2 separate regions of the Homo sapiens genome follow, and region 1 is linked to region 2. The links are contacts of gene promoters, found by promoter capture Hi-C in human tissues and cell types (Jung and others, 2019). All regions are on one chromosome and are shown on one strand. Each heading gives the region's core, a stretch centred on a gene start or on the middle of the fragment in contact. The rest is flanking DNA. Distances are from core to core; before and after follow the strand shown.

Region 1 (6,422 bases), core at 485-2,984, 330 kb before region 2:
ATGATTTCCATATGATCATCAGAGCTAAGAAGTGCCATTATGGTACCAATATTCATGCTCTGTGGGCAACATGTTTTATTTCCTTATACTATTATCAACTGCTTTGAATAGTTGACATCTCTGGGATTTACAATTGGCTTCATAATTGTGACTTACAGATAAACTTTTCACCTCAAAGATAATTTACAACAGAATCCAGAAACAGAATATTTTCAGTTTTTCTAAGGATCTTGAACAATAATCTCTCTCTTTATTTCCTCATGGATAAAGCTAATTAAGCCCAAGAAATATCATCACAAATCCAGATCAAGACTGGCTGCTATGCTCTAGTGGTCTCCAGCTGATATAGTTTGAATGTGTCCCCACCTAAATTTCATATTAAAATGTAATCCCCAATGTTGGAGGTGGGGTCTGGTGGGAGGTGATTTGATCATGGAGGCAGATTTCTCATGAATGGTTTAGCATCATCCCCCTCAGTACTATCCTAGTGATAGTGAGTGACTTCTTCTTAGATCTGGTTGTTTAAAAGTGTGTAGCACCTCCCTACTTTCTCTCTTGCTTCTGCTCTGGCCATGTGACCTGCCTGCACCGCCTTCACCTTCCACCATGATTGTAAGCTTCCTGAGGCCTCCCAAGAAACTGAGCATGTGCCAGCATCATGCTTCCAGTATAGCCTGTAGAACTGTGAGCCAACTAAACCTTCTTTCTTTATAAATTACCGTGTTGCAGATATTTCTTTATAGCAATGCAAAATTGGACTAATACTGACTGCTTTCAACTTGCAGTAGCTTTCCCATGCAGTAGCTTGGGAAAAGGAAAAACCCTATTCTCTTGCCATCTTTTCTGAGGAGCAGTGCTTCAGTCTTTGATGGTTAAAGCGGACACCAAACTTTTTTTTTTTTTTTTTTTTTTTTTGAGACAGGGTCTTACTCTGTCACCCAGGCTGTAGTACAGTGGTGCAATTTTGGCTCACTGCAACTTTTGCCTCCCGGGTTCAAGCAATTCTCTGCCTCAGCTTCCCAAGTAGCTGGGATTACAGGGGCCCGCCGCCATGCCTGGCTAATTTTTTTGTAATTTTAGTAGAGATGGGGTTTCACCATCTTGACCAGGCTGGCCTTGAACTCCTGACCTTGTGATCCACCCACCTTGGCCTCCCAAAGTGCTGGGATTACAGGCATGAGCCACTGCACCTGGTTGAGACCAAACTTTAAAACAGAACAAAACAGCTTAAGTCTTCAGAGCTTAGAACAGACCATAAAGTTTAAGGTTCAGGTTTAGGTTCAAGGATTGACAGGAATTGGTATACTTCCTGAATTAGCAAAGAAACAAAGCAAAAGATTTACATAAACTCAGGGTACACAATCCCTGATACAAAGAATGTGGCTTCACGGTGCCAGCCTGTTCCCTGCTGAGAGGCTCCAAAGTCAAGTGTTCTCAGCACCTTCTGTGAAGTGAGGGGCTGAAACTCCAGGATTAGAAGTCATTGAGAGTGTGTTGAGAGAGGGAACAAACATCAGTCAAATATCAATTCTAGTTATCTAAAAGCAATTGTTCTGATTGCCAGACCACAGGTATATCATCTAGTTTATTTCTGTTTTATTTCTTACCATGCCATCAAGCCTTGAAAATGGAGGTTTCAGTGCACTAAACCTAATCAAACAGCAAAGGCACACAGGAATGGAAAGATACTCCATGTTCATGGATTAGAAAAATTGATATTGTAAAAGTACATACTATCCAAAGCATTCTACAGGTTTAGTGCAATCTCTACCAAAATTCCAATATCAATCTTCACAGAAATAGAAAAGCTATCCTGAAATTTGTGAGAAATCACAAAAGACTTCACATAGCCAAAGCAATCTGGAGCAAAAAGAACAAAGCTGGAGACATCACAGCACCTAATCTCAATTTATATTACAAAGCTATAGTAATCAAAACAGCATGGTACTGGCATAAAACCAGATACATTGACCAATAATAGAACAGGATAGGAAGTCCAGAAATCAACCCATGCATTGATGGTCAGTTGATTTTTGACAAAGTGCCAAGAACCCATAGTGAAGAAAGAATGGTCTCTTTAATAAATGGTGTTGGGAAAATTGGATATCCACATGCAGAAAAATGAAAGTGAATCTTTATCTCCCTCTATGTACAAGAATCAACTCAAAAGAAATTAAAGACTTAAAGCAAGACCTGAAACTATAAAACTACTAGAAGGAAACCTAGGGGAAAAGCAATGGTCTGGGCAATGATTTCTTAGATATGACCCCAAAAGTACAGGCAACAAATGCAAAAATAGACAAATGTGAATTGCATCAAACTAAAAAGTTTCTGTATGGCAAAGAAAACAATTAACAAAGTGAAAAGACACTGGGAGAAAATATTTGCCAATCATACATCTCATAAAGGCCTAATATGTTTTAAAATAAACAAGCAACACACACAACTCAATGACAAGAAAAAATTAGACCTGTTAAAAAATGGTGAAATGTCCTGAACAGACATATCTCAAAAGACATACAAATGGCCAACATGAATATGAAAAAATGTTCAACATCACTAGTCACCAGGGAAATGCAAATTAAAACCAGAATGAGAGGTCACTGCACATCTGTTAAACTGGCTGTTATCAAAAAAGTGATACTATCTCAAGAAAAAAAAATCACAAATATTGGTGAGGATGTGGGGAAAAGAGAACCCTTGTACACTGTTGATGGGAATGTAAATGAGTGTAGTCATTTTGGAAAGCAGCAGGGAGGTTCCTCAAAAAACTAAAAATAGAATTATCATATGATTAGCATCCCAGTTCTGGGTATATATCCAAAGGAACTGAAATCAGTATGTCAAAGAGATAACTGCACTCCTGTGCTTATTGCAACATTATTCCCAATAGCCAAGATATGGACACCACATAAATTCCCATTAATGGATAAATGGATAACGCAAATGTGGTATATATACACAATGAAATATTATTCAACCTTAAAAAAGAAGGAAATTCTGTCATTTGTGACAACGTGGATTCACCTGGAAGACAGTATGCTAAGTGAAATAAACCAGACACTGAAAGACCAATGCCACGTGATCTCACTTATATGCGGAATCTAAAAAAGTTGAACACACAGTAGTAGAGAGTTGAATGCTAGTTACCAGAAGCTGTGGGTTTTGAAGAAGATGGATGGGGGTAAAGGAGATGTTAGTCAAAGAGTACAAAGTTTAATTAGACAGGAGAAATAACTTATATTGGTCTTTGCATAGCATGGTGACTATAGTTAATAATGAGTATGTATATCCATATATAAATAAAAATATATATAGTTAATGTAATGTAGATTTCAAAATTACTAAAAGAATAGGTTTTAAATATTCTTACCCCATAGTAATGATAAGTATGTGACGTGATAGATATGTTAATTAGCCTGATTTAGCCATTCCACAAGGTATACATGTATCATAATATCACACTGTACCCCATAAATATACACAATTATTTGTAAATGAAAAATTTTTTTAAAGGCAATGGCTTTTTAAAAAAGCCTTCTGTATTATTTGTCGAAGAGCTGCTATGAAGACAGAGGAAAGAAAGGGTATTGAAAAAAATTCGAAATGACTTGTGTATTAATTTCATTAGACAGACCTTACAAACATCTACTAACAAGTTCTTATTTTTAACATGTTATTTAACGTGTAATATGTCACACATAGAGAAATTTTCATGTGTAGTTAATATTTATTGAATGAATACACTCAAGTTACCACCACTAGGTCAAAACAGAACATTCCAGAACCCCAGAGCCCTTCCATGTTTTGTCCAGCCCCAATTCGGCTTTTCTCCTTCCCCTGAGAGATAACCACCACCATGAGTTTTGCCTTAATCAATTCCTTGTTTTTCTCTATAGCTGCATCACTTATGTGTGCATCTCTAAACAAGACAGTTTCATTTTCTATTTTTTGCACTACATTGTATTTATGATATTCATGCTTGTTGATATGTTTCTCAATAGTCCATCTATTTTAATTGGTGAAAAGTATGTCATTGTCTAATTATACCACAATTTATTTATTCATTCTGCTGTTGATGTGTATTGGGGTCATCGTTTTTTAAGTTTACAAATAATGCTATTATGAATATTTGTGTATTTATGTCATACATCTTTTTCTATCATTTTTACTAACAATGTTTTGATTATTAGTTTTTAGATTATCTCCTCTAAAGAACACTCAATGAGATTCTGTTCTTCCATCTAGTCTGACAATCTCATTTCCAAAGGGAACATCCACTTAATCCATATTCAATGCAATGATCAATATACTTTAGCTCTAACCCTCCATCCTACCTTGTACCTCCTAGTTGTACACTTATCCAATGCTATTTTTTCTCTCTCTTAAACTATTTAAATGTTTTAATTTTTAAAAAATGTTTTAAAAAAGAATGTTTCTTTAAACTATTCCATCTTCTGTCAATTCTGCATTGGGCCTGCCTCTCATCCTAATGGCTTCTTGAGAAATCATTGTGTGTGTATTCAACTGAACTCAAAATTTTTATCTTCCTCCCTTATAACATGAGAACCTTCAGATACTTCAACTCCATGTACTCCTCTTCCAATTTACAGATCCTGGCTGTCATTTGGTACTAAATTCCATCATGTTTTATTAATCCCTTATAACATTATTAATAATTTTTTATATAGTCAATGTTTATCTACTCACATATTTGATACTTTTTTTGCTCAACTTTCTTTTTTATATCTCAACACTTCCAACTGAGATTTCTCTCCATCTGCATTTTCTACCATTTTGCATTTCTTTTAGTGAGTGTCTGCTGGTGACAAACTTTCTCAAATTTTGTTTAACTAAAGATGATCTCATTTTAACTTTTTACTTGATGGATATTTTTGCTGAGTAGAGAATTCTAGTTTGGCAGTAATTGTTCAATTCACTACATTGCAGATAATTTTCACTGTCTTCTGACTTTCATTATTGCTTTTGAGAGGTCATATACCATTTTAATGAAATGTAGTAGGCTGATTTTTTTTTTTTTTTTGAGATGGACTCTCACTCTGTCACCCATGCTGGGGTGCAGTGGCATGATCTCGGCTCACTGCAACCTCCGCCTACGGAGTTCAAGCAATTCTCCTGCCTCAGTCTTCCGACTAGCTGGGACTAATAGACAGGCGTGTATCACCATGCCCAGCTAATATTTGTGTTTTTAGTAGAGATGGGGTTTCGCCATGTTGGCCAGGCTGGTCTCCAACTCCTGGCATCAAGTGAACCACCCACCCCAGCCTCCCAAAGTGCTGGGATTATAGGCGTGAGCCACAGAGCCTGGCCTAGGCTACATTTTTTTTTAAACAAAAAGGGTGAAGCTAGGATCCCGATGCTAACTTATGAAGATATTTTGTATCATTCTTTTATACTCTAAGATTTAAACCACAAATAATTTAGAATTATAATATGACAATCCCAAGTTATCTAAGCATTACATAGTAGTAGGTTCAGATACAATCAGAGCAACACTAGCTTAATCAGGCAGGGTGTGTTTTGGCCATGAAGTACAAATTAACAAGTAGCAGTGACCTAAGCATAAAGTCATGTATTGTTTGCTTAATAAGAAGTCTTGAGGTTTAAAATTCAGTTATATTCTATTTTTCATGAGTGTATCTATTACACACAAAAAGACAGGTCTGCTCTTGAATGGGGATATGAGTATAAGTCTATTAATATTTTGGAAATACACATCACTAACTCCTTATAAGGGGTTGGCTTATAAGAAATAGATGGCTAAGAAGGATCTTTAAAGTCATTTTTTTCTTCATTCTGTATTACAATGCCACTCTGATAGAGTCAGAGAGCATCAACTCTAAGGTGAATATGAAATATCACCTCAATTTTACATGCTTTATTGTGTACACTTTCTCTTGTGAGGAGTGGAAGAAGTACCAAAGACATTATTTTTTTCCCTTAGTCCCTGCAGATCTAAAATATTAAGATTCACCAGGAACATTGTTAATAATTACATAGCCTAAAGCAAGATATAATGTCATAAAAAGCAGACAAGATTTATCTTGGCTAATCCTTAATTCATGTAATCAAGAGCTACTGAAGTGCAATTATCTCCTATTTTTATCTTTAACTTTAGCTAAAACCATTTTAATTAGCTGTTTTCCTTGTCCATCCCAATGCAGCCACTGACTTCAATAGTACAGTAGATTTTATTCACCATTCACCTAAACTTATCATGGTCTAGTAATATTGTCTTATCATTGGACAGTTTTGAAATTATTGATTACCATAATCCTTCTGTTTGCTTAGCCATAGAATTCTGCAATATTAATAATCAAGGATTGCCTTTGTGGGCTTTTTTAGAAGCAAAAACTAAATTCCTAACCTGTGAGAAATCAAATTTCAGTGATTTCAAATAA
Region 2 (6,196 bases), core at 3,030-5,529:
ATGGTGCCACATTCCTGTAGTCCCAGCCATACAGGAGGCTGAGTGAGGCAGGAGGATCACTTGAGCCCAGGAGTTTGAGGCTTCAGTGAGCTAGGATCCTGACACTGCACTCCAGCGTCAGTGACAGAATACAACCCCGTCTTGAAAAACACACACACACACAAACAGACCTCAAGTTATTTTGATGCTCTTTTTTTTCCCCCAAAAGGAATTTGCAATTTGAGTAGTAACTTAAGGGCACTCAGAGAGACACTGTCTTCTTTTTAGGCTCACAGAACTGGCTAGATTTTTATAAAAGGATTTCTGTTCTACTAGAGAAATCTTCCTAAGAGGATATTTAAGCATAAGTTGTGAAGCATGACCCGCCCCCACCACTCAAAATGCATTTGCCATAATAGTTAGCACAAAGCAAGGTCAGTGGAGATATATAAGAAAACAATTCTGGCTGGGAACTGCTATTCCAGTTTCCTGATTCCTAACAGAGGTATACCAAAAGTCAATGTTCTTGCAAAGTTAAGAAGTTCTTTTTTGTTTGTTTGTTTGTTTGTTTGTTTGAGGCAGAGTCTCGCTCTGTTGCCCAGGCTGGAGTGCAGTGGTGACATCTCAGCTCACTGCAACCTCCACCTCCCAGGTTCAAGCAATTCTCCTACCTCAGCCTCCCCAGGAGCTGGGATTACAGGCGCATGCCACCACACACAGCTAATTTTTAAAAAATCATTTTTAGTAGAGAAGGGGTTTTACCATGTTGGCCAGGCTGGTCTCCAACTCCTGACCTCAGGTGATCCACCTGCCTCAGCCTCCCAAATTGCTGGGGAAAATTAGAAGTTCAGACGAGTCTTGCTCTGTTGCCCAGGCTGGAGTGCAATGGTGCAATCTTGGCTCACTGCAACCTCTGCCTCCCTGGTTCAAGCGATTCTCCTGCCTCAGCCTCCCGAGTAGCTGGAATTACAGGCGCATGCCACCACGCCCAGGTGATTTTTGTATTTTTAGTAGAGATGGGGTTTCACCATGTTGGTCAGGCTGGTCTCGAATTCCTGACCTCGTGATCTGCCCAGCTCAGCCTCCCAAAATGCTGGGATTATAGGTGTGAGCCACTGTGCCCAGCCAAGGTAAGAAGTTCTTAACATTGGTTTGTTGGAGAGTTACACACAGAAAACACCACTGCTTAATAGGAACCTGGATGTTTAACTCTTGGCATTCATATTTAAAATTATCATAGAAGAGAGTCAAAGCACCAAATAAGAGGTTGGCTCATATCAGTTATTCTCACATTATGCTACCATAGAAGCTGCACCAATGTATCTGTTTTACCATGCAAAAGTATTTGCAGAAAGGTCTACCAAATGGTGAACAAAATGCGGCATAGCCATGGCATGGAATAAATCCTAGTTAAGCAATAAAAAGGAACCAACTACAGCTACATGTGACAACCTGAATAAACCTCAACAGCTATTCTAACTGAAAAAAGCCAGATGCTAAAGACTATATATTGTACGATTCCATCTGTATGAAATGTCCAGAAAAGGCAGATCTAAACAGACAAAATAGATTAGGGGTTGCTGGGGCTGGGGTAAGAACGGTGAGTGATTGCAAACAGGCCCCAGGGATATTTGGGGAATGATGAAGTGATCTAAAATTGGATTGTGCTAATGGTTGCACCATTCAGTAAATTTACCAAAAATCATTGAATTATACACTTGGATGTATTTTATGGTATGTAAATTATACCTCCAATAAAGCTTTTTTAAAAAAAAATACAGAAGGAAAAGTAAGAATAACTTGAATAAAGATGCTGTTTTCCTCTGGGGGTGGGGTGAATGTAACTGTAGTCTTATTTTTCTAATTTATAGGAAAAAATATAATTTAATGGATAGATGTTTTTCAGTTTTAAATTTTTTGTTCATTAATTTTTGTCTCTAGATTATTGTCATCCATACTACAAGTTTAGTTTTTATTTAATTTGCATGAAATTGATACTTAGCTATTTTAAGTTAATATTTCATAACATTAAGCCTGGAACACATGATTCCTAAGTTCTTCCCCAACCTAAACAAAAGAGAAAACCACTGAGCAGAATAACATGCAAGCTCCTCTATCATTTTTAGACTTGACTTTTTAAATCAGTGAAAGGAAATATGTGATTTGAAACTAATCTAGTTTTAGTCACTGTCGAAATTGAATGGATCATTTATGTGGTCTGTAAATCTATGGCCTTGACTTGGGGTGGCCTGGAGGACTCCAATGTAGTAAATTCCAGGAGGATAGAAATGTGTCTGATTTACACAGGGCTGTGTTTGGCCCAGACCCTACTTCCCCTCCCATCTGGTTCTCCCACACAGAACACAGTGTCCTCAATAAATATTGTTTCAATGAATACATGAATAGGCCCACAAATTTACAGATGTACCAAATAGTTTCTAAAACAATGTACACACACACACACACACTCTCTCTCTCTCTCTCTCTCTCTCTCTCTCATTTTCCAAACCTATATAAATGGCTGTTTTTGTGCTTAGTAAATGACATTCATTTAAACGTGTTAGTAAATTCATGGTAAAATTTTGCCATTATGAAATGTTTTCAATCAATAAATAGCCATATAATTTTGATGTAAATATCTCAGTTCTAAAGATGAGAAACTACTATTTTAAAAGACTTTTACATTCCCATCAAAATCTTCAGTTATTTCCCCTTTCAGTCATTATTCCAAGCAAATAAACACCTCATTTTTCAGGTTTGTCTAAATCTAGCTTACATTTTTTAGCTTTGGCCAAAATTTGGATTACAACTCACCTTCAATGTTGAGCATACTGTAAACAAATAAGCTAACAAATAACATGCCTATCAGTAATTCACAAAATAGCAACAGTATTAATTTCAAAAGTCTCTTTCTAGTTAGGACAAGGGATCAATTTATTTTGTAAATAACAAGAGGAAAGAACCTTCTTATGACGTCGGCCTTATGACGTTGGCCTGGGTCCCAAGAAGTGTAGTTGTTTTCATTCTTTCTGCAAACATTTGAGGAACCACACGGGGATACTCCCTGCCTTGGGCAGAAATTCCTCTGTGTCAGGGGCCTTCCCTCTCAAATTGGGAGTGGGGTGGGGAAGAGAGTGGGCAGCGGGGGAAAAGCATAACAACAGCACCAATTGTGTCTGCCAGGGTACCTGACACTCCTGCCCAGCTCACATATCAGGAAAACCAGACTTCAGTAGCTCTGAATATTTAATGGCATTAGGTAAAATCAAAAGAACAGATTATCTCCTCCCTATCACAAACACAGAATAATTCCTTTTTGTATTCTGACACTTCATCCGAACTATATACACCAAGAAAGTAAAAGAGGTTTTGATTCCTAAAATAAAACAATCAGAATATAATGGGGAGCAGGTACACCTTCAGTTATGTTCAGGGCTTGTTGCTTGTTCTGATCCTTATATTCAATTTTGTCTTCACTTCCAAAAAGGCTGAAAATTCACAGCTATGTTATCATCCAATCTAAAAACTACACTTGCACGGTCCCGTACTAACCTTCAGTAAGATAAGAGTGTTCCTTTGTCTAGCCGCCTAGCACTCTGTAACTTCCACATCTAAAATATCATGATGCTACTCAACATTAAGGAAAAGGTCAAGCAATGGGCTGCTCTTTTTACTACACCTGCGGCTGCAGAAGCCCGCACAAATGAATGAAGACAGCCACCTTCATTCATCTCTGCTCTTTAAAAAATGCGAGCGCAGTGACCTGTCAAAGCCACCACGCTGGAGTTCCTAGGTCAGGGCGTTTACCGCAGGACTTTTCTCCATAGCCTCTGAAATTAGCAGGCAGAAATCGCGGGGACCCCTGACAAACGGATTGTATAACAACAACCTAAATAAATAATCAGGTGTGCGCCGGACTAAGTAGGGGTTCCTCTCTGCGGAAAAGCAGCTCTTCCCAATGGGGAAGAAACTTCTCGCCCAGGAAATTCGAGCCCAGAACCGAGGTTTCCAGGGAGGATTACCTCTTCAACAAGGACCCTTTTACAGGAAATGTCCTTGATGCCAGGAACTCCACTGGGGAAGCCGCTGGAAAGGCACCTGGACACCCACACACATGGAGGGGATGCGGGGGCGCGCCGCAGGGACCGGGCCCGAAGGTGGCCAGACTCGCCTACCTTGTGGGGCGCCCAGCCGACGCGGGGTCCCGGTGCTGCTCCTCCCCTGGGCGATCGGACCTTGGGGCCAGGGTCGGCTGCCAGGGCCCTGCGAGTGCAGCCGCCACCGCCCGCAGGCTTGGCTCCGCCCCGCGGGGCGCGCCCAGGGCAGAGTCCGGCGCCGGTGAGGCCCCGGGGAGGAGTCGCGGCAGGACGCGTACGCCCAGCGCTGGAGAGCCAGGCTCTGCCCCTCACGCCCCTCGCTAGGGTGCTGTACAGGCGGGTGGGGGGAGGGGATCGGCCGCTGCTTTTCAAGAAGGTTCTATTTGCACCCTAAGTTTATAAACTTTTGTTTTTGTTTTTTAAATAATTTTTGATTTTATTGTTTTTAGTATAAATTTATGGAGTACAAGTGCAATTTTGTTGTTTTTTTAAAAAACTTTCTTTTGGAACTTAAAAAAAGTTGCAAAGATAGTAGAGAGAGTCGTCTATATACCCCTCAGTCGGTGTCTCCTAATGCCTACAGCTTCCATAACTGTGGCACATTTGTCAAAACTAAGAAATTCACATTGGGCCAGGTGCGGTGGCTCACGCCTTGGTAATCTCAGCATTTTGAGAGGCCAAGGCAGGCGGGAGGATCGCTTGAGCTCAGGAGTTCGAGACCAGCCTGGGCAACATAGCGAGACCTCATTTCTACTAAAAATATTTTTTAAAAGACATTAACATTGATCTGCCACTATTAACACTACTCCAGACTTGATGTAGCTGTCACTAGCTTTTTGGCTAACGCCTTTCCCTTTCAGGATCCCAGCCAGGATACCACACTGCATTTAGCATCCTGTGCCCTTTGTCTCCTCTAATCCATGACAGTTTCTCTGTCTTTTCTTGACTTTGACAGCTGTAAAGAATTCTAGTAAAGTATTGTGATGAAGTATTCTGGTAAGGTATAGTTTTGTGGGGGTACCTCGACACCCACTCATGTGGGTATTGTCTACTGTTTTTTTCTCATGATGAGACTGGGGGGAGGAAAGACTCAGAGATGAAGTGCCTTCCCCACTGCATCCTCTCAGGGACGATGGCACGATGGCCAGGTGACTTATCACTGGTGACTTGACCTTGATCCCATAGTTAAGGTTGTGTCTGCCAGGTTTCTCTACTGCAAAGCTGTTTTTCTCTTTCCATACACTCTACTCTGAATGGCATGAATGGCATGACTCAATTCAGCTGACACTCAAGATGAGGGCAAGATTAAACTCCATCCCAGAGCAGGGAGTATCTATATGTTATTATTTAGAATGATTCTGTAAGGAAGATTTGTTCCATCTCTCTTGTTTATTCAATCATTTATGTCAGTATTTGTTATGTCAGTATGGACCCATGTATATTTATTTTATACTTTGGGCTAGAATTCAATACTACATTATTAATTTTGTTGCTCAAATGGTTCCAGCTTTGACCACTGGGAACTCTTTCAGGTTGGCTCCTGTGTCTCTCTGAAAGTTCATAAACTTTTAGGATTGTGGGGAAAAAAAAAAGGTGTATTTCCTCCGCCCCCCCTCAACATCTAACAGATTGAGAAAACTGCAACCCAAATCCTTCAATATCCAAGGGCTTTTCAGAATCTTCCTGGGAATCCTATGATTACTGATTCCCACCACAGTTAGAGAGGAATGTTATTTTTTTTTTTTCCTAGCAGATTAACTTGTAGATTGTGACCCAATTGGAGAAGTGAAAGTTGATGGTTCTTAGGTAATTTTTTTGTTAACTAATCCTTGTGGTTCTAGTAAATAGATGTATGTATGTTTACAGACAAATCGTGTTCCAAAGATAGCCATGGATGTTTATTACAAGTTTCAGCATTGAAGAAACCCAGCTGTTGAGGATCATTTGTTACATTGCTTTGGTTTGCTCATGTTTGCATTTGCAAGTTGGTTCCATAAACACCACATTTCCTCCTTCTGAGCTTGGCTTTTGCTCAGCATTTGACACTGCCTGCTTTCTGAGACCTGTCCACCTCTCTTCCTGGCCTTGACCCTTCCTGGAGAAGGAAATCTACTTCTCCA

What was found. The method cuts DNA at HindIII sites, captures the fragments that hold promoters and counts their contacts. A contact is called where the count stands out against the background at its distance.
Region 1: a contact is called between a fragment that was not itself captured here and the fragment with the promoter of CCDC68 in region 2, in 1 of the 25 tissues and cell types used here (hippocampus).

What each region holds. Positions count from the first base shown.
Region 1 is chr18:54,625,574-54,631,995 of GRCh38, forward strand. No RefSeq gene overlaps it. Among named protein-coding and RNA genes, the nearest start is that of DYNAP, 38 kb to the left of the region's middle. The HindIII fragment of the contact is 9,961 bases long and covers 1-6,422 here.
Region 2 is chr18:54,955,182-54,961,377 of GRCh38, forward strand. It overlaps CCDC68 (coiled-coil domain containing 68), which reads right to left and starts at 4,280. Exons shown (of 12, transcript NM_025214.3): 1 at 4,155-4,280. The HindIII fragment of the contact is 9,753 bases long and covers 179-6,196 here.